Linked DNA regions of Homo sapiens: all the other regions are linked to region 1. Evidence: promoter capture Hi-C in 16 types of primary human blood cells and fetal thymus (Javierre and others, 2016). All regions are on one chromosome and are shown on one strand. Each heading gives the region's core, a stretch centred on a gene start or on the middle of the fragment in contact. The rest is flanking DNA. Distances are from core to core; before and after follow the strand shown.

Region 1 (4,221 bases), core at 497-2,996:
CTACTACCGCAAACTGGAGGGAGGGCCAGGGAGCAGTGACCTTCAGCTGAGGGACCTGCCAACTGGAGGTGACCTTGCCAGTCAGGATCCAGGGGCTTAACCTACTCTAACCAACCTTTCTTTTTCCTCCAATCTTCTGTGGGGTTCTCCACTGGGCACGCCCCAAAGCCAGGGGGCACAGGGAGCGCGAAGTAATTTGTAGAGGTCAGCCTCCTGGGGCAGAGGGCAGGCAGGAGAAGTATTTGGAGCAGATGAGGGTATCTGGAGGGGAAAATGTAAGACATCAGGCACAATATTGCCCTGTCTAATGGACAGAGTGATTCCAGGTTTTGTAGGGACTGAAGCTCACATAATTTTGGGGGATCTACTTTAAGAAAAATCAGCTGGGTGTGGTGGCTCATGCCTGTAATTCTAGCACTTTGGGAGGCTGAGGCGGGGTGGATTGTTTGAGCTCAGGAGTTCAAGACCAGCCTGGGCAACATGGTCAAACCCTGTCTCTACAAAAAATACAAAAATTAGCCAGAAGTGGTGGCCTGTGCGTGTAATCCCAGCTACTCGGAGGGTTGAGGTGGGAGGATTGCTTGAGCCCAGGAGGTCGTGGCTGCAGTGAACCGAGATCGCGCCAATGCATTGCAGCCTGGGTGACAAAGTGAGACTATATCTTTAAAAAAAAGAAAAAGAAAAGTAAAATCGACAAATAAACCCCCAAAGCTATGTAAACTCATTGAGGGACCTGCGCAAGTGAGGTCCTGAAGCTTACGCTTCATTGGCTTCATTGTTAATCTCCCTCTGCCTGTGACTTCAGTGATTTTGACCTAGAACAATGACCCAGTGCCCAATAAGCTCTCAGCCTCATGGGTGATGGAGACTTAGCTGATTATAATAAACACAATGCGGCCGGGCGCGGTGGCTCACGCCTGTAATCCCAGCACTTGGCGAGGCCAAGGCGGGCGGATCACAAGGTCAGGAGATCGAGACCATCCTGGCTAACACGGTGAAACCCCGTCTCTACTAAAAACAGAAAAAAATTAGCTGGGCGTGATGGCGAGCGCCTGTAGTCCCAGCTACTCGGGAGGCTGAGGCAGGAGAATGGCGTGAACCCGGGAGACGGAGCTTGCAGTGAGCCGAGACTGTGCCACTGTACTCCAGCCTGGGCGACAGAGTGAGACTCCGTCTCAAAAAAATAAATAAATAAAAATAAATAATAAACACAATGCAAACTGTGGCATACGTTGATTACAGATGAAACACTATAGATGATTAGGTAGACATTGAGATATGCTTTGAAATAGGCTTCGAAAAACAGGTAGGATTTAGACACATATCAATGAGTGGGCAGAATAATACTAACACTATCTGCTATTTATTGAGCACCAACTAAGTTTAAAGTACTGCCTATAGATTATTTCATTTAATCCTAACAGAAACAGGAAACTTATTTTACACCCAACTCTCTGCCAATACACTTAATAAATCAAGCTACTACGAACAAGGCTGTAAACCACATTTCCTAGAAGACCAGGGAGCAGAAGGACGGGGATCTCCCTTTGCCGCTAAGAGACTCCAACTCCCAGGATGCCTTGGGAGCGCTGGACCACAGCTCCCGGCATTCCCGGGGAGGCGCGGGGCTAGCGTAGCCTCCGCCCCGCGCCTCGCGTTACCACTCGTCCCGCCCCTCCTCGTCGCCTCCGAGCCAATGGGAAGGCTCCATACTGCAGGGTGCGAAGGGGCCGGCGCCGCTGCCGAGTTACGAGTCGGCGAAAGCGGCGGGAAGTTCGTACTGGGCAGAACGCGACGGGTCTGCGGCTTAGGGTAGGGAGGCCGCAGGCGACACGGCTCGAGGACTCGCGCGCCGAGCCGGGGGCGCGGAGGCGGGCGGCCGGGGCTGGGGCCGGCACTGGGCCTTCCGGGCGGCCTGTGGGTCCACCGGGGTGCGGGAGTCGCCGTCAGCCTCGGTCGCCCCGCGGGACCGCGCTCCGCCGCGTGGCTTCCGCCTGCGCGGGCGTCCGCTCCTTCCTTGTCTCGTTCAGGCCCCGCAGGCGCCCCCGGGGATGCCTGGACTGGCCAGGCCGGCCCCCATCTGAGCTCCACGTTCTGGACGCGCGTGGTGTCGCGGCCGAGCTCGCAAACGCCGCCTCGGGCCTCACCGGGAAGCCGGTTCTGTCAGGCGGGGCTCCGGGTGAACAGCGCAGGCGAGGCCCCTGCCCCGCAGAGCTCACTCTGTAGAAGGGAAACAACACACGCAGCTGCGATGTTTTGCGGATACGGAAATGCTTTCTTAGAAACGGGACAGGCAGTTGCGGGCTAGAGGAATGGGGGCGAGGCTCTTTAGGTTAGGTGATCCGGGAGGGCATCTCAGAGGATGTGACCTTTGACTTGAGACCTGAGAGGGGAGGCCGACCCCTGAGGATAGCAGCCAGGCCTGGGGACCGCGAGGCCGCCCGTTATTTCCCTGTCACATCGCGGGGAGGCCCCGTGATCCTGTACTTGAGGGTCTGTCTGGTGCAAGGCAGTTAGAGCCGCTTGTGTGTTTTGCAAGGGACTTTCATAACCGTTTGACAGTTCCTCCTCATTCTGTCCTTACCTGGCAGGGTGGCATCCTTTACTGTTGCAGCTCCATTCAGGGGCAACGCATAGTTTTTCCTACCACCGAAATAGTATTGTGGTTCTCGTCTCAAAACTCTTAGGTGGTAGAATTAAATTCGACAGACAGCAGCAGAGTCAGACACTATAGGTTCCTGTTGAGGCCACCCATTTTTCTGATGTCCTTTCTTTCAAGTCACTCATTTTTGTTTTCCTTTGTATAGACTCTTCCCTTCCCTTTCCTGTGTCCCTTTCTTGGAACAACTTGGAAATACAATTTGCTATTGGGAGGATGTTGGTTTTAGGGAACTGTTGAAGAACTTCATTAATTATTGTGTGTGTGTTTTTCTTTTCTTCTTCTTTTTTTTTAAACTGGAATTGCCCATCTGTTGAGACTGAAATTCAAGAGTAAAAAAAAGTAGGGCAGCATTTATTTTCAAGAGTTGACAATAAAGGCACCTTTCTTTATGACATGCTGAGCATGATACTTTGGGGGAGAATTTAATCTAGAATTTTGAAGCATTTTCAGAAGGAAGCAAGGGTTCTTTATATAGTCATTTTATGTAGGTTACGTTTATGTTCTTCAAAATGGCATGTAGTGATTGGAATTAAATTTCTGGGTAGATAAGATTATGTTCATCTGTTACCTATAGAAGGGAATGTAACTTAAGTAGTCACTTAATAATAGCTTTCTCTGTTGATGCTACCACAGATGGTATTCTCTACATCTCAACATTGCTGATCAGATTCTGTGTTAATACAGTAACACAACTTGAATTTAATAACAATAAACTTGTGTTAGGCGTTACTGTCAATTTAGTTCTGGTATCCAGTACAAATACCAGTTTTATAGTGCAATGTCTTCTTGTTATGTTCAGTGCTGCAAAAATTATGAGAGGATATTTGTTAAACAAATGAGATAATGGAGTAATGTGTTAAGCATAGAGCCTGGCATATAGTAAGTTAGTAAGTGCCCAGGAAATGGTTATATGGAAAGCTTATGCTAAGTTTTATTCCAGTATGCAAGTGTGTATTTTAAAAATAACAGTAATGCATTCAAAATGTTGACAGACCCTAAAATTAAATTTCTTAAAGGAAATAGGCCAGCTTTTTTTTTTAACTTTGAGAACTAATGTGAAATAATAATAAATATATAAGTGAAATGTCCCAGATGTCTAGAAATGAAAAAACAAGATTTTAATTTTGACAGCTATATTTTTTTTTCTTAAAAGCATCCCTAATAAGATATAATGTACTATGATTAGGATTATGATTTGAAAAATAAAACTTTAAAAATATTTTTGATTTGAAAAATAAAACTTATTTGGAAATGAAGCGAAGCTTTAAGATTTACCTTATATCAAATGAAGGATGTCTCCTGAATTTATGCAAATGTGCAAATGCTTATATCTCCGTAGATCAGGCAGTGAGCCTAATGGGAATTAAATGCTGCCTCTTTGTGCGTGTGAGTGAGGCTTTCATGAAAATTGCTCTTGATGGGTTCTGAGAATGGATTGGTAGCTGAATAGGACTGGAGAATATTTTTCAGACTGGTAGGATATTTTACATGCTTGCCAGGGTTATTTTTCGGAGTAAGGAGAAATGGACTCATTTATTCAGCAGAGATCACGTGCCCCC
Region 2 (4,221 bases), core at 1,066-3,565, 280 kb after region 1:
TTAATATCTCATATAAATGGAATCATGCAGTCTTTGTCCTTTGTTAGCATCATTTATGTTGTAACATATGGCAGGATTTCCTTCTTTTTAGAGGCTGAATAATATTTCATTGTGTGTATACATCACATTTTTTTTTTTAATGAGGAAAGGTCTTGCTCTGTGGCCCAGGCTGGGGTGCAGTGGCACAACCATGCCTTACTGCAGCCTCGACCTCCTGGGCCCAAGCGATCCTCCCATCTCAGCCTCCCAAGTAGCTGAGACCACAGGCATGTGCCACCACACCTGGCTAATATTTTTATTTTTTGTAAAGACAGGGTCTCCCTACATTGCCCAGACTGGTCTCCAATTCCTGGGCTCAAGTGATCCTCCCAACTTGACCTCCCAAAGGGCTGGGATGATAGGCATGAACTGCTATACTGGCCCCACATTTTCTTTATCCAGTCATCCATCAATGGACATTTAGGTGGTTTCCATATTTTGGCTGCTGTAAATAGTGCCGCAGTGAACATGGGAGTGCAGAGATCCCTTTGAGATCCTAATTTCAAATCTTTTTGATACATACCCAGAAGTGGGATTGCTGGATCAGGTAGTAGTTCTATTTTTAATTTTTGAGGAACCTGTGTACTATTTTCCATAGTGGATAAGCCATTTTTTAGAGAAGAGAAAATGAACAGCACAGAGATTTGTCCCTGTGCAGGGCTAGCAGGAGGTTTTGGTCAGATGCTATCAGGGAGCACAGGTAGAATGTTGCTGTACATTAAAATTAGCCAGGCGTGGTGGTGGGTGCCTGTAGTCCCAGCTACTCGGGAGGCTGAGGCAGGAGAATGGCGTGAACCCAAGAGGCGGAGCTTGCAGTGAGCGGAGATAGAGCCACTGCACTCCAGCCTGGGCAACAGAGCGAGGCTCTGTTTCAAAAAAAAAAAAAAAAAAAAAAGAATGTTGCTGTACGTTGATCTGTGCCTGTAAGCCCCTGGCCATCTGAAGTCTGGGGTCAGATTTCAAGTAGCCCGCTCATTGGTCCCTCACTGAAAATAATGGCAAGGGCACATGCTCTTTAAGGAAATCAGTGACCTTATGCCAATGGACTCATCTGTAGGAATAACCAGTTCACTAGCGTGAAAAGAGCTGGTTGGTGCTGGTCCGGGTTGGGTTTCAGGAAGAGAACAGAGGAGAGTTATTTATGGGTTTGTTATATCAGCCCCACTAACTATTGGCCCCAGTAAGCATTGATTATTGATCTTGTCCACATGATCCACTCTCCAGAGAAACCCAGAGCCCTGTGCATGTTGCTCTGTATCAGGCTGTTTGAGGTTCTGTAGCGGTTGGCCCTGTGTGTTGCGGTTTCTGGGCAGAGAGCTGCCCCTTTGCAGGTCACTGGACAGCAGGGCTCAGCGGAGCTCAGGCCTGGTTCATTCCTCATTTCTTCTCCTCGAGGAGGTTTTTGGAGGAGGGATTGATCCTTCTCCACAGGTGCCTAACCCAAATGACAGGTCCTGCGACATCGCCGGTGCCGGGCCCTCTGATAGAGCAGCTGGACTCTGCAGGGGAGGCTCCAAACCTTTGTTTCCCATGACCCCTCCTAAGTCTAAGATGGCTGTGTGAGCAGGGGATGGCCTGCCTGTGTCCCCCACCCAGGTGCAGGAGAGCAGAGTTGGAACAGGTTAAAAAAAACCAGCAGGTCCAGCTTTGGTCTGCTTAGTGCCTGACAAGTGGAAGCGCCGGAGGGAAGCGTGTGCTTGCACACTGGCCATGACGACAGAGAAACTCTACCGGCTGATGAAGCTCAGACCAGGGGCGTCCTGAGGTCTGACTCAGCACATTAGCCACTTCCCTTCCTTTGAGGCCTGGCAGTGGTCTGGAAAGGGGCCAAGAGAAAAAAGGAGCTTTAGCCGAGAAAGTAGAAGTTTTCTCTCTAACGTAGTTGATACGATTGCCAGATTGAGCAAATAAAAATACAGGGTGCTTGGTTAAATGTGAATTCCCATCATACTTCTTGGGGACATGGTTATGCTAAAAACATGCTTGTTTATCTGAAATTCAAATCTAACTGGGCATCTTGTACATTATCTGGCAACCCTCATCATTGGTGTATGTTTTGTTTCCTGCTGTCACCTAGCATTGTCAATAATATTTGTGCTGCCTGGAGGTGGGTTTGGCCGGAGAGGTTGGCGGTGGGCAGGGCTGAGGTGTGGGGAGAGGTGAAGTGGAGTGATACCAAGAAATTGTCTGTTCAAATGTTACTAATTCTTGGGAACTTGCAGAGCAACATGGCGCACGCTGCCTTTATTGCTGCCTGGAAGGGAGAAAGACACTTTTTTAGTAACCTGTGCTGGTGTCATCAAATGTGGCCTGAGATCACTGAGGGGGATGTTCTCCAAAATGTGCAGAGCATAGGTGAGTTTGCCGCACTGCCTTTGTGATCCAGATGCCTGCGTTAGTTCGCATGAAACTGAAATGGATACGATGGCAATTTCTGGGTGAAGAATACATGAGGAAAGAGACGCAATTAGAGTGAGCGATATGTTTGTGTGTTGTTTTGGTTTCAATCTTGAATGCTTGGCTTTGGCCTTTCCCCCCATAGATCCTAGAAGGCACTTGGGCAATTGTGTGAAAACAGGGAGTCCTTGGATCAAAGACTCAGTTCCTTACTGACTATTTGTGGGATGTTTGGGAAGTTACATCACCTTCTTGAGCCTCAGTGTGTCCTTCTGTAAAATGAAGTTGAGAAAGATATAATTATTGATAAGGTTAAAGAGATAATGAATGTAAGGCATAGCCTGGTGCTTAGTAGGACTTCAATAACTGGCGATCATTATTGTTATTCAAAAAATATGTGTTCCAGTCATCATCAATCCGCCAGCCAGCGTGTGCAGAGCTTGATATGATTAGGAGCACTTACAAGTACACATATTTCCCTCCCAAGTGGAAGGCTATTTCATGGTGAATAAATATTGTATTGATAGCATTAATAATAAAAAATACAAATGCGACTATAAAGCAGTGTAATGGATGTGACTTAACAATGTGGAGATCCAAGTGGATTTGGGGAATCAGTTTGATTTGTGTGGTTTTTATGCCTAGGCAGTCACAATAAATAATAGTTATATTAATTGGCTCCCTGATCAGAGTTATAAAAATCATGTTTTGTAGGAATTACGTCAAATACACTGGAGTAATGGTTTCAGTGAGAAAAGAGCCCGCCCTGGGGATCAACATGCACAGATGTAACTGTCCCAAGGTTGCTGGGTGGCCTGGAGCTTCTTGGTGCAGATTCTCCAGAGTGGGTGCCCTGGCCTTAGTTCTGAAAATGACCCTTTTCCAGGCCACACTATGTGTTGCTTCAACAGCACCAAACCCAAGGTAAGTGCAGTTCAACCCCTTGAGCTGCCCTGACCCACTGGGTCTCAGAGCCTGGAGAGAGTAAAGATACCATGTTCTCCTGGAGAAACTGAGGCCCCCAGTTTGGGAGTGACTTGCCCAAGATCACACAGAGACTAAAGGTAGTCTCTAAAGCTGTCCTATAATTATTAAACTTGTTGAACTTTCAAAGCAGCTCGCTAATATCTTTCTTCCATCTCCCTGGCCATGGGAGACCCTGAACATGGGGCCTCTCTACCATGCATGAAGCACATGATTTGTTACAGAGCGGTTTTTATGGCTGACTCCCAGACTTCTTTTCCACCCCCGCTGATTAGTTGAAGCCACCTGGATTAGTTAGGGCAATTAGTGCTAGCTGCAGGAACAAATAACCCTAAAATTTGAGTGGCTTGACACAATACCTTTATGTGCCTAGACCAGCATTTGGCCTCTTATGAAGCGATTTAGGAATTCAGATCTCTACTTCTCTACTGTGCTGTCATCTTTTAAGGCATCTTTTAATCTCTACTTCTCTGCTGTGCTGTGAGTCCTCTGCCTTTGGCTGCTGATGAAAGTGAGTGTGGAGGACCACACAAGACATTTTATGGACAGGCCTGGAAGGGGCATCACTTTCTCACATTCTATTTATCGAAGCTGGTTACATGGCCCCAACTGAATTGTAACAGAGGCTGGGAAAGGCAGTCTTCCTGGGTTCTGAAAACGACTCTTTTCTCCTGGAGGGGGTAATGGATTAGAAAACATCTACCAAGTTTCTCCTACAGCGTCCATGGTCATCCCCCCACCCTGCCAGTGATGGTTTAAGAGTGGGGATGTAACCCAGCAATGTGTATGTAGCCCATCCCT
Region 3 (4,221 bases), core at 906-3,405, 260 kb before region 1:
TAACTTTAATTCAGCATATGTATTTACTAGACTTACTATATCCAGTAGATGCATTTAACAAACTTAATACATCAAACTTGATAATTGTGATTAAACTGACAACCAGGTATTTGTACATTTCCATTTCTGTTTTAAAAATATTGCCATGTTTGTTTGTTTTTTTTTTTCTTTTTTTTTTTTCTGAGGCAGGGTCTTACTTTACCCAGGCTAGAGGCAGTGTTGCAATCACAGTTCACTGTAGCCTCAACCTCCTGGGCTCAAGGGATCCTCCTACCTCAGCCCCCCCAAGTAGGTGGGACTACAGGCGCTTGTCACCATGCCTGGCTAATTTTTAATTTTTTTTGTAGAGATGGAGTCTCACTATGTTGTCCAGGCTGATCTCGAAGACAGCCTCAAGCAGTCTTCCTGCCTTGGCTCCCAAAGTGCTGGGACTACCGGCGGGAGCCACTACCCCCAGCCTATATTGCCATGTTTTAAAATTATCTAATTAAAATACCTATGATACGAAATAATATAGTTTGGACTTTTGGAGGGACATTGTCGTGTTCATAGATAATGAAAGGATCCTGGCTTTAAGGAAAATTAGGTTTTTGTTTTGCTGTTTTGAGTCAGGGTTTTACTCCTGTCACCCAGGCTGGAGTGCGGTGGCATGGTTTTGACTTACCGCAACCTCCGCCTTCCAGGCTCAAATGATTTTTCTGCCTCAGCCTCCCACAGGTGCATGGGAGGTCCATAGCTGAGACCACAGGTGTGTGCCACTACACCTGGCTAATTTTTTTGTAGTTTTTGTTTTTGAGACGGAGTGTTGCTCTGTCACCCAGGCTGTAGTGCAGTGGTGCGGTCTCGGCTCACTGCAGTTCTGCCTCCTGGGTTCACACCATTCTCCTGCCTCAGCCTCCCCAGTAACTGGGACTACAGGTGCCCACCACCATGCCCGGCTAATTTTTTTGTATTTTTAATAGAGACGGGGTTCACCGTGTTAGCCAGGATGGTCTCGATCTCCTGACCTCGTGATCCGCCTGCCCAGGCCTCCCAAAGTGCTGGGATTACAGGTGCGAGCCACTGTGCCAGACCTGTATTTTTTTTATAGAGACAGGGTTTCGCCATGTTGCCCAGGCTGGTCTTGCTCAAGTGTTCCACCTGCCTCAGCCTCCCAGAGTGCTGGGATTTTTTGTTTGTTTGTTTTTTCATAGAAATGCCTTAAAAGTAGTTTGACAGATATGGAATGTTGTTTTGTTTGTGTTTCAGATTGATATTTTGTTTGCAAGATTAGCACTGCAGACAATTCCTGAAGATTTGGATCTACGAGATGACAGTCTGCTAAAAAATTTAGATATAAGATGTATAAGAAGTCTTAACGGTATGAGAAAGCCTACTTCCTTTTGTGTACTTCAGTTTTTGTCAGATATTAGTTGTTTTTACACAAGTTTTGTATTGAAGCTTTTTATAGCTATATTGTTAACACAGTAGTGAGTTAAATAAAATGAACTTTGCCTAATAAACTACAGAAGAGTATGTAGTAGTTTATTTCACTCTACAGTATTTTATACACTGTATTTCTTCTGTCATTAATGGTATACTCAGGACACTTAAAAAGACCATCTGACTTTTGTACTCTGTTGCTAGTGATTTAGGTTTCATGGCCTAACCCAAATTAATTTTGATCCTGTTATTCTTTAGTAATGCTTTCAGCATTGCTGAGATCAGAAGGACTACTTTGGTACAATTTTATATTAGCATAGCTTGTTACTGTGCTCTTGAAGAGCAGTTCTTGGAAACTTTAGTGGATTAAGTCTTCCGCAGTATATGTGGGAAGTTTTAATTGTGAATCTGAAGTTCAAATTGGGGCAGGTTACAGTTTACTTTGGTTTCTTTGGTCAGTGCTTACAATAGGAGATAAATGCTTTAGATTTTTTCCCCCTCTTTATTGAATTAGCTTTACTGGTTCTACCAAATAAAAATTTATGTTTACTTTTAACTTCAATCTCAGAAAATTTGGAAGCATTACCATTAAACTTTTGATGATTTAATGTTGTTTTTTTTTGTTTTGTTTTGTTTTGTGTGTGTGTGTGTGTGTGTGTTTTTTTTTACCCCTATTAATTAGGTTGCAGGGTAACCGATGAAATTTTACATCTAGTACCAAACATTGACAACTTCAGGTTAACTCTGAGAGCTATCAAACTATGGGCCAAACGTGAGTTCAGAATTTGTTGGCTAGCTTATTAAAAATGTTCAAACTTTTGTTCAACACTAACTTATCTTTTTGCTTTTCCCTTATCAACAGGCCACAACATCTATTCCAATATATTAGGTTTCCTCGGTGGTGTTTCCTGGGCTATGCTAGTAGCAAGAACTTGCCAGCTTTATCCAAATGCAATAGCATCAACTCTTGTACATAAATTTTTCTTGGTATTTTCTAAATGGTATGTGTTTAGATTATATTAAAATAAAATTGATTGTAGACACTGAAGTTTAGTCTTATTTCTATGACATTTCTCAGCTTGGTTTCAGATTCAAATTTTAGTTCATGATGTAGTCATGTAGGCAGCCTTGGAGATCACATTGTGTATAAAATGGCAAACTGAAACTATTTTTTTTCCCTAGTTTGGCCAGGATAGTAAGGCAGATTCTATTTGTACTTCCTTGCATAAACTTACCCTCTGAATAAACTCTGAATTTTAGCAGCTAAGATCCAATTTATTGATAGGTTGGGAAATCAGTTACTATACTTTTGGATAAAACTTGTACACACTACCTCTTTCACTCTTTTAATTCTCTATCTATAGGCCATTAGTTTCTTGTGATTGTTTTTTTTTTCTTTTTGCTTTCAGCATTTATTTGGCCTAATATTAAAGATACGAATTTTCATAAGAAGCTTTTAAAGAATAAATTAACATTAAGTGCTTCGGGACAAAAAAGGAATTTGAGATTAGTCATTAACCCAGATTTTTTTAAGTTTCTTCGTTTCATTTCCACATATGTCAACTATGATTTAAGAAAAAGTAGAATAAAAGATTACTGCCATTTTATATTAATTGCCTTGGCCCAAAAGGTGAGGGTTCTTGGTTTTTAATCAAATTAAGATAAATCGTCCATTCCTGTTCTTATGAACTCCTGCTCCTCCCTCTGCAAAAGAGATGTTCTTTTCTAGTAATTTTATAAAAATTAGTTATTTGAGACAATTTAGAGCTGTGTTCAACTGGAGGAAAAATAAAAAAAATTTAGAACCATGCCACACTTTTCAGTACACATTCTGGCTGTTTTGGGATTTAGTAGCACTTATAATCAGGTGTGATAAGATTAAAGAATGTCAGAATTTCTTTTTTTTTTTTTTTTTTTTTTGTTTGAGACGGAGTCTCACTCTGTCACCCAGGCTGGAGTGCAGTGGCACGATCTTGGCTCACTGCAAGCTCTGCCTCCTGGATTCATGCTATTCTCCTGCCTTAGTCTCCTGAGTAGCTGGGACTACAAGCGCCTGCCACCACGCCTGGCTAATTTTTGTATTTTTAGTAGAGACGAGGTTTCACTGTGTTAGCCAGGATGGTCTCGATCTCCTGACCTCATAATCCGCCCGCCTCGGCCTCCCATAGTGCTGGGATTACAGGCGTGAGCCACCGCGTCCGGCTGTCAGAATTTCTTTTAATGCTACACATATATAAGCAAATAATGTTTTTAAGAAGCTAACCTTGATGTTAAGAGTGGCAGGTGTTCTCCAGTTTTTACCTCTTTCATATGGGACCAAAGTAGCTAGTTTATGGAACACATATGAAAATGTGGTTATGCCACCAAGTTTTACTACTACACTTGTCTTACCACTTTTAAGTCATGAATTCTATAATTATTCATACCCCTTTGCCTGTGATCAGAAGTAACTTTTAAAATTATCACTTGACTTTGGATGGAACTAGTATAAAGGCAGGAATTTTGTCTTTCAGTGGAGATTTATTCTGTTCAAGGTTGAAGTGGACACATCATTATCTTGGGATGGTACTTCTTTATTTAAATAGTCCTTTAAAGTTCTTTGAGTGGCAGAGAACGTTTTTGGTTTCAGTCTGAGAAGGCTACCAAATGGTTTAAGTTCATTTCATAGTTAGGAGAAAAAGATTTTGAGTAGTCTAATGTCGTCAGAAAGGATTAAAACGTTGTATGTACCAAGAAGGCAGAATGAAGAAGGATCACGTTCACAAATGCTGTATGTTTAACAAAATACGTTTAGATGGT

What was found. Contacts are between HindIII fragments. The CHiCAGO score rates a contact against its expected background, and 5 or more counts as called.
Region 2: a contact is called between a fragment that was not itself captured here and the fragment with the promoter of VRK1 in region 1, in 1 of 17 cell types (erythroblasts). The highest score is 5.3, in erythroblasts.
Region 3: a contact is called between a fragment that was not itself captured here and the fragment with the promoter of VRK1 in region 1, in 1 of 17 cell types (erythroblasts). The highest score is 5.9, in erythroblasts.

Annotation. Positions count from the first base shown.
Region 1 is chr14:96,795,636-96,799,856 of GRCh38, forward strand. It overlaps VRK1 (VRK serine/threonine kinase 1), which reads left to right and starts at 1,747. Exons shown (of 13, transcript NM_003384.3): 1 at 1,747-1,812. RefSeq lists silencers at 1,629-1,828, 1,839-2,128 and an enhancer at 2,073-2,604. The HindIII fragment of the contact is 2,825 bases long and covers 754-3,578 here.
Region 2 is chr14:97,075,727-97,079,947 of GRCh38, forward strand. No RefSeq gene overlaps it. Among named protein-coding and RNA genes, the nearest start is that of LINC02304, 77 kb to the right of the region's middle. The HindIII fragment of the contact is 5,230 bases long and covers 1-4,221 here.
Region 3 is chr14:96,530,227-96,534,447 of GRCh38, forward strand. PAPOLA (poly(A) polymerase alpha) reads left to right here. Exons shown (of 22, transcript NM_032632.5): 7 at 1,249-1,360; 8 at 2,105-2,194; 9 at 2,285-2,423. Among named protein-coding and RNA genes, the nearest start is that of PAPOLA, 30 kb to the left of the region's middle. The HindIII fragment of the contact is 1,435 bases long and covers 1,439-2,873 here.